Regions from separate parts of the Homo sapiens genome. Here regions 1, 3 and 4 are each linked to region 2. Evidence: promoter capture Hi-C in 16 types of primary human blood cells and fetal thymus (Javierre and others, 2016). All regions are on one chromosome and are shown on one strand. The core of a region is centred on a gene start or on the middle of the fragment in contact, and the rest is flanking DNA. Distances in the headings are between cores, read along the strand shown.

The links. The method cuts DNA at HindIII sites, captures the fragments that hold promoters and counts their contacts. A CHiCAGO score of 5 or more calls a contact.
Region 1: a fragment that was not itself captured here is called in contact with the fragment with the promoter of JADE1 in region 2 in 1 of 17 cell types (total B cells); the score reaches 11.0 in total B cells.
Region 3: a contact is called between a fragment that was not itself captured here and the fragment with the promoter of JADE1 in region 2, in 2 of 17 cell types (naive CD8 T cells and total B cells). The highest score is 6.9, in naive CD8 T cells.
Region 4: a fragment that was not itself captured here is called in contact with the fragment with the promoter of JADE1 in region 2 in 6 of 17 cell types (naive CD8 T cells, activated CD4 T cells, naive CD4 T cells and 3 more); the score reaches 8.5 in naive CD8 T cells.

What each region holds. Positions count from the first base shown.
Region 1 is chr4:139,560,164-139,562,863 of GRCh38, forward strand. No RefSeq gene overlaps it. Among named protein-coding and RNA genes, the nearest start is that of SETD7, 5.3 kb to the left of the region's middle. The HindIII fragment of the contact is 1,271 bases long and covers 761-2,031 here.
Region 2 is chr4:128,808,299-128,810,998 of GRCh38, forward strand. JADE1 (jade family PHD finger 1) reads left to right here and starts at 1,402. Exons shown (of 11, transcript NM_199320.4): 1 at 1,402-1,579. RefSeq lists silencers at 1,225-1,704, 2,215-2,334 and an enhancer at 1,805-1,914. The HindIII fragment of the contact is 6,052 bases long and covers 618-2,700 here.
Region 3 is chr4:139,018,834-139,021,551 of GRCh38, forward strand. All of the region lies in intron 1 of NOCT (nocturnin), which reads left to right. Among named protein-coding and RNA genes, the nearest start is that of NOCT, 4.4 kb to the left of the region's middle. The HindIII fragment of the contact is 254 bases long and covers 1,207-1,460 here.
Region 4 is chr4:139,080,044-139,082,747 of GRCh38, forward strand. All of the region lies in intron 4 of ELF2 (E74 like ETS transcription factor 2), which reads right to left. Among named protein-coding and RNA genes, the nearest start is that of NOCT, 66 kb to the left of the region's middle. The HindIII fragment of the contact is 209 bases long and covers 1,197-1,405 here.

The sequences.
Region 1 (2,700 bases), core at 146-2,645, about 11 Mb after region 2:
GTCTGTTTTGGTTCCACCAAGAACTAGCCAAGCAACTGGGCAATTCAGTTCTGCGGGGGCCGGGGGGGGGGCCTTCGTTTTCCCATCTGTAAATGAAGAGTTGGGCTACATAAATTCGAAGCTCAAACCTTCTCTGTCCACCTTTTCTGGAGAAAAGGTAAATAGAGCCTGAGAAGCCCCAGGAAAAGGCACATAAAAAGGAAATGGGAAGAAGCCAGGGCAACTCCAACAAACTGAATACTCAAGTCCTCTCACGTTAATGGCTCTATCTGGGCAGGCAGGTGAGGGGAGAACCTTTATCTTGACTCTAGGGAGGGAAGCATGGAAGTTTTAGGAGAACCAAGGTTCCTGGGTTCTGAATCACTGAGTCACTAATCAAGTGGCTAACTGTGTTAGTGACAACTGCAGAAGCTGGAGGGAGGGGCTGGGAGAGGAGCAGCGAGGAGGAGACGGGTGGGGGAGGAGATGGGGATGAAAGGGAAGCGTTTGCAGCTTGTGGAGCACTGGGAAGAGCAGGGACATCAAGGGCACCAAATAAAGGTCCAGGGAGCAAAGAAAGAAATGGAGAAAATTCATTCTGCTGGAAATAGACATGAGTGCAGTCAGGAAGAAGACTTACAGATTCAGGGTGACCTGATTTGATTACAGCAACAGGAAGTGCAAGAGAGAGAGGGCAGAATAACCTGACCTAAGGAAGTGAATTAAATAATAGAGAAGACACCACAGTTGCCATGGTATTAAAATACCTCATGCCACATTAAGCTTCCTCTTTCTCTTTTGCTTGATTCTTGTTTTTGCAACATGTTAATGTTGCAATGACATGTTAATGTCATTGCAGGGTATCCAGTAAACTAAATTTAGACTTTCTGGGGCGGGGAGGGGAGGGAAGATGCAGCCCAGATCTCCCTGTTTGGGTCGACTCTGGGCCAATATTGTTCCTTCACAGAGTTCTTGGGGTTTTTTGCATTATGGGATATGAAAACTCTTATGTCAGGCTTGGGCCTAGTGAAGCTGCTGAGTGAAATGATTGAAAAAAAAAAAATGAGGCCAGGCACGGTGGGTCACGCCTGTAATTCCAGCGCTTTGGGAGACAGAGGCAGGTGGATCACCTGAGGTCAGGAGTTCATGACCAGCCTGGCCAACATGGTGAAACCCTGTCTCTACTAAAAATACAAAAATTACAAAAATACAAAAACTGGTGGTGCATGCCTGTAGTCCCAGCTACTTGGGAGGCTGAGGAAGGAGAATCACTTGAACCTGGGAGGCGGAGGCTGCAATGAGCCGAGATGGCATCACTGCACTGCACTCCAGCCTGGGCCACGGAGTGAGACTCCATCTCAAAAAAACAAACAACAACAAAAAAAACCCTCACACACACACACACACACACAAAGAAAAATTGGAAATAGTTTTCAAAGGGGCATCTGTTTTAGAAATTACTTTAGAAAAACAATAGGATTGCAGAAACTTGAAAAATAAAGACAAACCGCCACCAAAACCAAATGTGTTTTCATAGATATTATTTTCTCTAATTGTTTTTGAAAAATTACTTTACTAGGCTAAAATTAAGATTATTGAGTCCTGCAATTGGTCCTCTGCAAAAGTAGACATTGCAGAGGGCAGGTACATGGTATACTCTTTTGACACTACAATATCCAGGATGGGCAGAGGAGTATTTCCAGCTGACCTATTTACCACAAATGTCATAACATTCATCAAGGGTCAGCTCTTGACCTTCCTCAAGTGGACTCACATTAACTAGACCCCGAGAGACTGAGATGTATGCCTGAATTATGATGGACAGATCAGAATACTCACACTGTCAGGGCAAAAGATCTCTCTATATAAATAAATGCACTTGAGAAGACAAATTCCATCCAAAAGTTTGCTTAGTTATCTGGAGTAGAATGAAGGACATTAGTTGTGTGGTCCACAAGACAAATACTCTGATACAGTGTTCTGAAAGAATGAGGCTGCCCACCCATCCCACTCACCTCTGCTTAGATGGGCCCTATGGCTTCTGAGGCTTCAAGCTTCTTTCTCCGTGCTCTAGTTTCTCCAAACCTGATTCTCCACACAGCGTCCTATACAGCCCATTAGGCAGATTTACACTTTCTAAGTCATAATGACATTCTCTATCTTCCTGGCATTACAGCCAAGTCACTTTAATGGGAATTTGAGGTAATCCTCAAACTTCTCAGTCACAAATTGAGTCACTCTCTTGGTTTATGCCCACTGAATTCTAGTCAAAACCATTGAGTGTGCAGATTTTGGTAGTCAAACTTTCTGAGAGCAACCTGGTTCTCAAGTTCTTGGGAAAGCACCTCATTTCTGCTTCACAAGCCATCAACAGTGGGCCAACCTTCTTAGGCTACCATGATTTCTGAGAAAGAGACCAGAGACATATTAAGACCCACGTGGCCTGTCCTGTGATACAGTCATCCAAGTTTTCCTGGGCACTCAGCTCAAAGATATTTCTATTCTGTGCAGGAGTGGAGAGGTTGGCTCTTTGCTATGATAGCTTAGGCAACGGAACGCCACCTTGAGGATGCAGATTCCATCTACTATAACATAGATGGAGGGCAAAGTGTCCTCTTCATTTTCCAAATGGGACTGTCTGGCTTTGAATCCAATATCCAGAAATGAAAATACCCATGTGGTCCTCTTCACTCAGTCACAAACAAAGACAGGTTGATTAGA
Region 2 (2,700 bases), core at 152-2,651:
ATAACTGAAAGGCTCAATTAGTTTTGTTTTGTCGCATTTATCAGATTATAACGTTCTGGATGTGGGTCTGGATGTGGGTAGTTGGGCTGGTGTGGGATTACATGAAATCAAACCTGATATATTCAGAAAGATTCTTCCGGTGGACACATATGCCTTTTGGGTTCGATATTCAATTTTGTAATTAGTGATCACTGTTCCTATTTATTTATTTATTTATTTGAGACGGAGTTTCGCTCTTATTGCCCAGGCTGGACCACAATGGCGCATTATCGGCTCATCACAACCTCCACCTCCCGGGTTCAAGCGATTCTCCTGCCTCAGCCTCCCCAGTAGCTGGGGTTACAGGCATGTACCACCATGCCCGGCTAATTTTGTATTTTTTAGTAGAGACAGGGTTTATCCATGTTGGTCAGGCTGGTCTTGAACTCCCGACCTCAGGTGATCCGCCCACCTAGGCCTCCCAAAGTGCTGGGATTACAGGCGTGAGCCACCGCGCCCGGCCTGAATGGGAGTTTTTAATCCGTACTTTTTTCTTATTGAAGTTGAATGTCATATACCCCTCTATTTCCCTAGATGAATCCATGAAAGAAGTATGTTGCCCTCTATATGAAAAAGCAAGCTTGTCTTCTGCAGAAAATCAGTAACCACTCCTTTTTACACATAAATACCCCCAAATGAATCTCCGATGACTGATCTGATACTAGTCTGCAATTCTAGTTTTAGCATTAGGCTCACTCCTCATATTTGGGAGAAGATGTCCAATTCTGTAGTAATGTGTAACATAAAGTGGTGTCAATTTATAAATAATATCTTCTAATGAATTAATGCTCATTTGCAATGATCACTTCCATACAAATTTAGGTAAAGATGTTATTCAGAATTGGATTCTCTCTATTTAAAAATGTCATCCTAATGTGCAACTCCCTAAAACTGTTACTACAAACAACTATTTTGCCACTCAGCCTAAAAATAAAACCTTTCACCCAAATGACACATCTTAATAGCCATATTTTAATCTACGTAATTTTAAACTATTCTGAAAGAATCCATTTCTAGATGTCAGACAAGAGTTGAAACTGGGACAGCAGTTTGAAGGGGCTAATTTAAAAACCCACTTGCTTGGAGACACCTCAAGAATTTCTAGGCTCACAAGGTGGGTGAAGTAAGGAAAGAGACTAAGAGCTGAACAGTGCCGTTCTTTGCGAGCCCCCACTGGCGCAGGCTGAGCCGGCTGCGGCTAGGGCTGCGAAGAGTTAACGAGGGACCGAGCCCCAGCGCCGCGGGCTCCCCGCATGCTCCCTCCGCCCTCCCGTCCCCACCCTCTCGTTTTGGCAAGGGATTAAAGTGCTCCCCCCTGTGGCAGCAGTGACCCAGAAATGAGTTTGATTCACATAGTCCTTCCTCCATAACAAGCCAAACGCCAGACCGAGAGTGCCTCCGTGCGCGAGTGCCCGGTGTGTGCGCGCCGGCGAGAGCAGGGGCCCGCCCGGCTCCCCGCCCGCCGCGGCCCGAACTCATGCAGCTCCGAGCGAGCGAGCGGCGCCCAGCCCAGCGCCTCGGCCGAACCCCTCCGCAGCAGGTACGCGCGCGGGCCGCGGGGGGCGCGCGGGGTGGGCGCGCCGCGCGTGTGTCCGCGCGTGTCCGCGTGTGGGTCCGTGTGCGCGTCCCGGTCCCGCGGCGGCGACGGCGGCGGCGGCGGCGGCGGCTGCAGGACGAGCCGAGAGGCTCAGCCATATTTGATGGTTTTGTTGCTTTGCTCGGGAGTTCTCGGGAGTAATTTAATGCCGAAGGTCGCTGCCTAGTGGAAATAATATAATACGTCATTAATATGGCGCCAAAAGATTGGGTTCTCGATCTGTAGCGAGGAGGGAGGGAGGCAGCCGCTGAGCGCAGCGTTACTATCCCACCAGTAACTTGGGCATTGCCGGGGCGGGGGCCGGAGGAGGAGGAGAGGATGATTTTTGGATCCTGAGAATTGATCTATGTTGGATCAGTAAGTTTTATTATGATTTTTTTTTTCAAATTTGGGGGGCTGAAGACTTAGAGCTATTTCTTCTTTTGGATTTGCGAAGAACATGCGGTTTTCAGGTGAATCATCAATTAAACGCGTTTAGGAGCAGAAGCCCAGTTTAAGTTGGCTTTAGTTTATAGGTTTTTTTTTTTTTTTTTTTTTTTTAGAAAGCCAAAGTGCATTAGGCTGCATGAAAGTGGAAAGCATAGTAGCAACTTGGTAGACAGATGGCAATGGCAGAACGCAGGTTCGCGTACATATATGAATCCAGAGTGTGTGAGACCGTGTGTGTGGTGGGACTGTATTTGTCCAAACATAGGTGTGCGTAGGTACATCTGTGTGTGGTGGCCGCAGCCCTGGCTCTTGTCACCGCGTCACCACATGTCCAAAATATTCATTGCATCAATTCAAGGGCAGTGAGAGGGGGGTGGGGGTGGGGGTGGAGGGACAGTTTGGCAATTAGATTCTTCCGAACTGGGCTTCCAGTGATCAGATCTTTTACTTACAGCGCGACTGCTTGTAAAGTGTAAAACCCCTTAATCGATGAAATGGGGTAGGAGTTGGCGTTGGTAGAGCAAAGTACCGATTAATCGTGAACTTAAAGGGGATTGCAAATTGCAACCTTTGGCACCATCTGCAAATTGTGGGGGTGGGGTCTCTTGGTCTCCTTGCTTCCTTAAATGAACGTG
Region 3 (2,718 bases), core at 84-2,583, about 10 Mb after region 2:
GCTTCTAGAAATGGGTGGCATTTCAGCTGGCTCTTGAAGCATGGTTAGGATTGGAAGAGATTACTATAAAGCGTTTTGTTTGGAAAAAGCAGGAGTAAATGCAGAAAGGCATGAGACACACACAGATGAGGAAGGGTGAGAGAAGAGGCACTTTGCAAAAATGGACATTGTTTTCCAAAGAGCCTCAGACCCAGCACTAAGTGCTTTTTAATTTTAATTTTTATTTTTATTTTTTTTGAGACAAGGTTCTCTCGCACTGTTGCCCAGGATGGAGTGTAGTGGCGCCACCTCTGCTCACTGCAACCTCCACCTCCCAGGCTCAAGCAGTTCTCCTGTCTCAGCCTCCTGAGCAGCTGTGACTACAGGCACACGCCACTGTGCCGGGCTAATTTTTGTATTTAGTAGAGACAGGATTTCAACGTGTTGCCCGGGCTCGTCTCAAACTCCCCAGCTCTGGTGATCCACCTGCTTTGGCCTTCCAAAGTGCTGGGATTACAGGTGTGAGCCACTGCGCCCAGCCTATGAAGTGCTTTTTTAAAATGCAGATTCTTGGATCCTACTGTAGACCTATTAAGTCTGAGTCATTCATGATGGGCCCTGGATTCCACATAACCAAATGAAATGACAAAAAGAATAACTCCAGATTGTTCTTCTATGCCCTCAAATTTGGACATCTGGCACCCATATGTGAGAGAGACATTGAAGGGGCCAAAAGCTCCTCTCCACTCCTGAGCCTTGTGGTGGGGAGTAGTGAGTCCCGACAGCTGTCCACATTTGCTAATCAGTTCCTGCATAACTTATGCCCCTTGGCAATTGGTAGTTATTGGGAAGATAAGTACAGTCCCTTTGGAGTTATCAGATTCCAGGTTGTTAGAATTAAAAGGTGACCCTAGGGATGATCTCGGTGTTTGGCTTTCTTTTCTCAAGGATAGCAGCCCCCCTAAGAAGTAGCAGTTGCCACAGTTACTGTACTGGATGAAACGCAGTTGGAAGTCATCTGTGGATTTATAAATGCTATCCTCCACATCCCTCCTCCTCAGAGAATGAAGAGCTGGCTGAACTACTGTTCTCTACCATTAGAACATTTGCTTTTTTTCATGGTACAATTTATAGGCAAATGCCACCAGCTCATTTGAGAAGGCAGCTTTATTTAATATGTCCTTTAACTATGTGAGTAAACTGCTTATGAGAGAGAAGAAACGGGAAAGCTTGTCATTATCAAGCTGCTATGGAATAAATTGCTTTCCTTGTGGGAAAACTAATGTATGATTTTTCTGTTAGCATTCAATGGCAACAGTTTAAACATGGTGAACTGGGGTTCTTTGGGGTTAATAACCATGGCTCCAGATTCACATTCCACACACTTAACATTTGTAAATCATTTAACCTTGCTTGCTGTCTCAACACTAGACTTTACCTAGAACAAATGAATAAGATCAATTGATAGCAATTTATCCACAAGCTTTATTGAATAGTACATGTAAAAGGTGACATGACTAATTGCAGTGGGAGTTGAGAAGAAAGAAATCAGTGTGGCTGAATTTGTCAAGAAATGCTTTGCTTCTAATAGGTGAAAAAGGAGGGTGTTTTGGAAGGGGACAGTTTGCGGGGTGGTGGGGGCAGGCAGAGAAGACCACACACACAATGCCTGGAAGAAGGTGGCGCTCGCATGCAGGAGCTGTGGCAAGCATCTTAGGAAAAGGGGTAGAGGCAGAATCATTTGGGACAGTTGTTAAAATGCAGATTTCTGGCCTTTCAGCCCTCTGCTTGATCAGTTTCCTGTGGAGAAGCCCGGTGGAGTGCATATTTAACAAGTGCCTCAGGGGATTCTTCCAAAAAGATTAGGGAGTATTTATGAGCTCTGCCCCTCCTTTCCCCAAAGGTACTTATTCCTGGAAAGCTTGAGAAGCTCTGGAGAGGATTCTGGAAGAGCCTTAAGACCTTTGGTCTGGCCGGGCACAGTGGTTCACGCCTGTAATCCCAGCACTTTGGGAGGCCGAGGTGCGGATCACTTGAACTGAGGCATTCAAGACCAGCCTGGGCAACATGGTGAAACCCTGTCTCTACTTACATTAGAAAAAAAATAGCCAAGTGTGGTGGTGCACACCTGTACATCCCAGCTGCTTCGGAAACTGAGGCAGGAGAATCACTTGAACCCAGGAGGCGGAGGTATCAGTGAGCCGAGATTGCGCCATTGCACTCCAGCCTGGGCGACAGTAGGAGCAATACTCTGTCTCAAAAAAAAAAAAAAAAAAAGGATCTTTGAGCTTGGGGCCTAAGGCAGTTCAAGAGACCCCTGAGAAAGAACATTGACCCCCGAAAAAAGCAGCTTTAAAAAATTGTATATTTTGTCGAGACGGGTTTTGCCGTGTTGCCCAGGCTGGTCTCGAAATCCTGGGCTCAAGCAATCCTCCCGCCTCAGCCATCCAAAAGTGCTGAGATTACAGGCATGAGCCATCACGCCCCGCCAAAAGCAGCTTTTAAGAAAGGGAAGAAATTCCAGGGCCGGGCACAGTGGCTCAAGCCTGTAATCCCAGCACTTTGGGAGGCCAAGGCAGGCGGATCACCTGAGGTCGGGAGTTCGAGACCAGCCTGACCAACATGGAGAAACCCCATTTCTACTAAAAATACAAAATGAGCTGGGCGTGGTGGCACGCACCTGTAATCCCAGCTACTCTCAAAGAAAAAAAAAAGGGAAGAAATTTGCATATTAATGAA
Region 4 (2,704 bases), core at 51-2,550, about 10 Mb after region 2:
TGACACAAGGAATCATTTTAAACAATTATCAAACATGAGGAATTATTTTAAATAGTTATCAAGAACATTCTGCTGCCTGCCCTTCTCCACCAACCAAATTTGTTTCTAAAATAGTTTTATGTTGAATGATTCTGATTGGCTATTTACACACTGACTGATGTGACCATGTAACTCAGTTTTTACATGAATTTTAGTACCAATGCTGCAATGAATTGTGAAGGGTAATTTCTTAAATTCATTTTCAAATGAGCTTTTTAAAAAGAAAACTAGTGTCATTCCTTGAGTTTCATTTTAATGTATCTATTCACATACTGCTTTTAACTTCTTTTCATACTGCTAATTTTTTTTCAATTTGATCTTTTCAAGATTGAGACTACATATTCCAATTTATAGTAAATCAGAAATGAGATTTTCAATTTCATAATGAACTTTAATAAAATAGATTTGTTTTCTGTCAGTGAAAATATTTAGGCTAAATTTCCAGAAAAATTTCACCTTCATTTAATAACTGCATTGTTGACCAAAACTTCTGATTACCTTATTTCGCAAATGTAAAAATAAAATAAAATAAGAAAAGACAAATAAAGGAAAAAGTCAAGAAAGGTATACTTGAGAATAAGGCAGAAATCTTCCAGAAAATCCAGACTGTTCATACACAATACTTTAACATAAATATTAGGAAAGTAACAATGCTAGACATTTGTTTTTCCTATATTAAGCTATATACACTAGAAATGAGCCTAAATTATTAATTAGACTATATTACAGACTTAAACATATAAAGAGCCTCAAGTTCCAATTTGGCACACATTTTTATTTTCAAAGACTGGATAAAAGAAGTTAACCTACCAATTACATAACGAACTTATAGACATATTCATTCACATGGTGTAATATTAGAAAAAAAAAAAAAAACCCAAGGAGAAGCCCTACCTTTCCATTAAGTATTTCCAAGCCACTTATTTTAGAGCTTTAAAAGTCATTAGCAATCATCTAGTCAACCCTGTCTTCTTAGAGAAAAATGAAGCCCTAAAGATGTTAAGTCACTAGCTAGTTTAGTGACAGCTAGATATAGATCCTCAACTCTTCAGGGTCAAGGCTCGTTCTCATACATCATATTGTCCATGAAATTTTAAAGTACGTCGAGTCTTTACTACAAACATACTTTGTAAAATGACAGTGAGTTTTAATAAATAAGCTTATTTATTTCATCCTTTACTCAAACTCCTCTGGCAGCATAAATGTTTATAGCTAAAGGAATGCACATGTGATACTTAACACCTCAAAAGGAAGAAAAGCAAAAGTATATTCGAGCTTAACATGTACCTTAACATGTAGCGACAGTGATAATATTAAGTGTTATATACTTGCTTAGAAACATGTTATGCTGAAAATATTAACCTAAAGCTTATCTCCTCTAGAAGTTGTATAAATATCATTCTACACTAATCATCAACCCATTATAGCAATCACTGGAACTATTTTTTACATTTATACATTATATAGATTTTCACCTGTCTCCCCAGACTGTAAAATCTTTGTGAGGAAGAATTCTCTGTCACACCTGATGACCTCCCTCAAGGAGATAAAAAGGTATTCTGTCCATTACACAAATACAAACTTTAGAAACATTATCCTACCAATGCTATTGAAAATTGGCAGCAATAAAAATTTAGAATCATGATTCCTAATCTTCTGGGCCATCTTTCCTCCCTAACTTTTAACACACTGAATAAACCTTGGGTAAAAGAGCAAACCTCTCTCAAGTTTCCTTCTAAAATAAGGCTTGTAAGGGAGCTTCAGATTACATGAACATAATTGGTGACATAACTTGAAAATAACTGTATGTAAAACATATTCTTTACAGAACATTATTATCATAAACTTTAAGATTCGTATATAGTACAGAAATGCAGTAGAGCTGGAAAACAGCACTTTTTAAAACCCCTTATCAAAAGACAAAACTTTTGTCTTTTCAAACCAAAGACAGTCTTTTATATACACACATATATACTCCAAGGAGAATACCTACAGGCCATATTCAGTTTCACCGGTAATTCCAAAAGCTTACGAAAAAATAGTTTCCAATGGCAAAGTGAAGCCCTCCTACCTTTACAGTATTTTTCAAAGTTTTGATGCAAAGGCATTCTAAGGTTCTTTCCGTGTGTTCGCAGCCACTGGAAACAACATCTCTTGAACTGTACATATTCAATATTCACAGAAATATCATTGACCCAACAACTTCACGTATCGTTAGTACCAATAATATAAAGCCAAAAATTCCATCCCTTAATTCATATTGTAGTAATGGACAATATATACAAAGGAATCAAGTTCTCATTGTGCTCTCTTACTAAACTTAAGTTCTTGTTCTGACCAGAAAGCAACTGTCAAACAGATGTGTTTTAATCACTACTCAGTAAACTGCATTTTCCTTTGGAACCTCTGAAACACATATTTTTACATTTTATAGAATAAAAGACTGGTCACCACTGTGTTGTACTCAATACATACATATTATTTCAGACTTTGAACCTAGAGCGCTTCCGTTAAATTTTGATACATGTGTTCATGATTTCCCCCATCGAACTGAGTCACAGAGTTTTGCCAAGCAAACTACTAATTTCAAGTCCCTTACCTAAAAACAATGGATGGAAGACTGTTAAGATCTTTTACAGAATTACTGTTCCCTGAGTATTTCTCA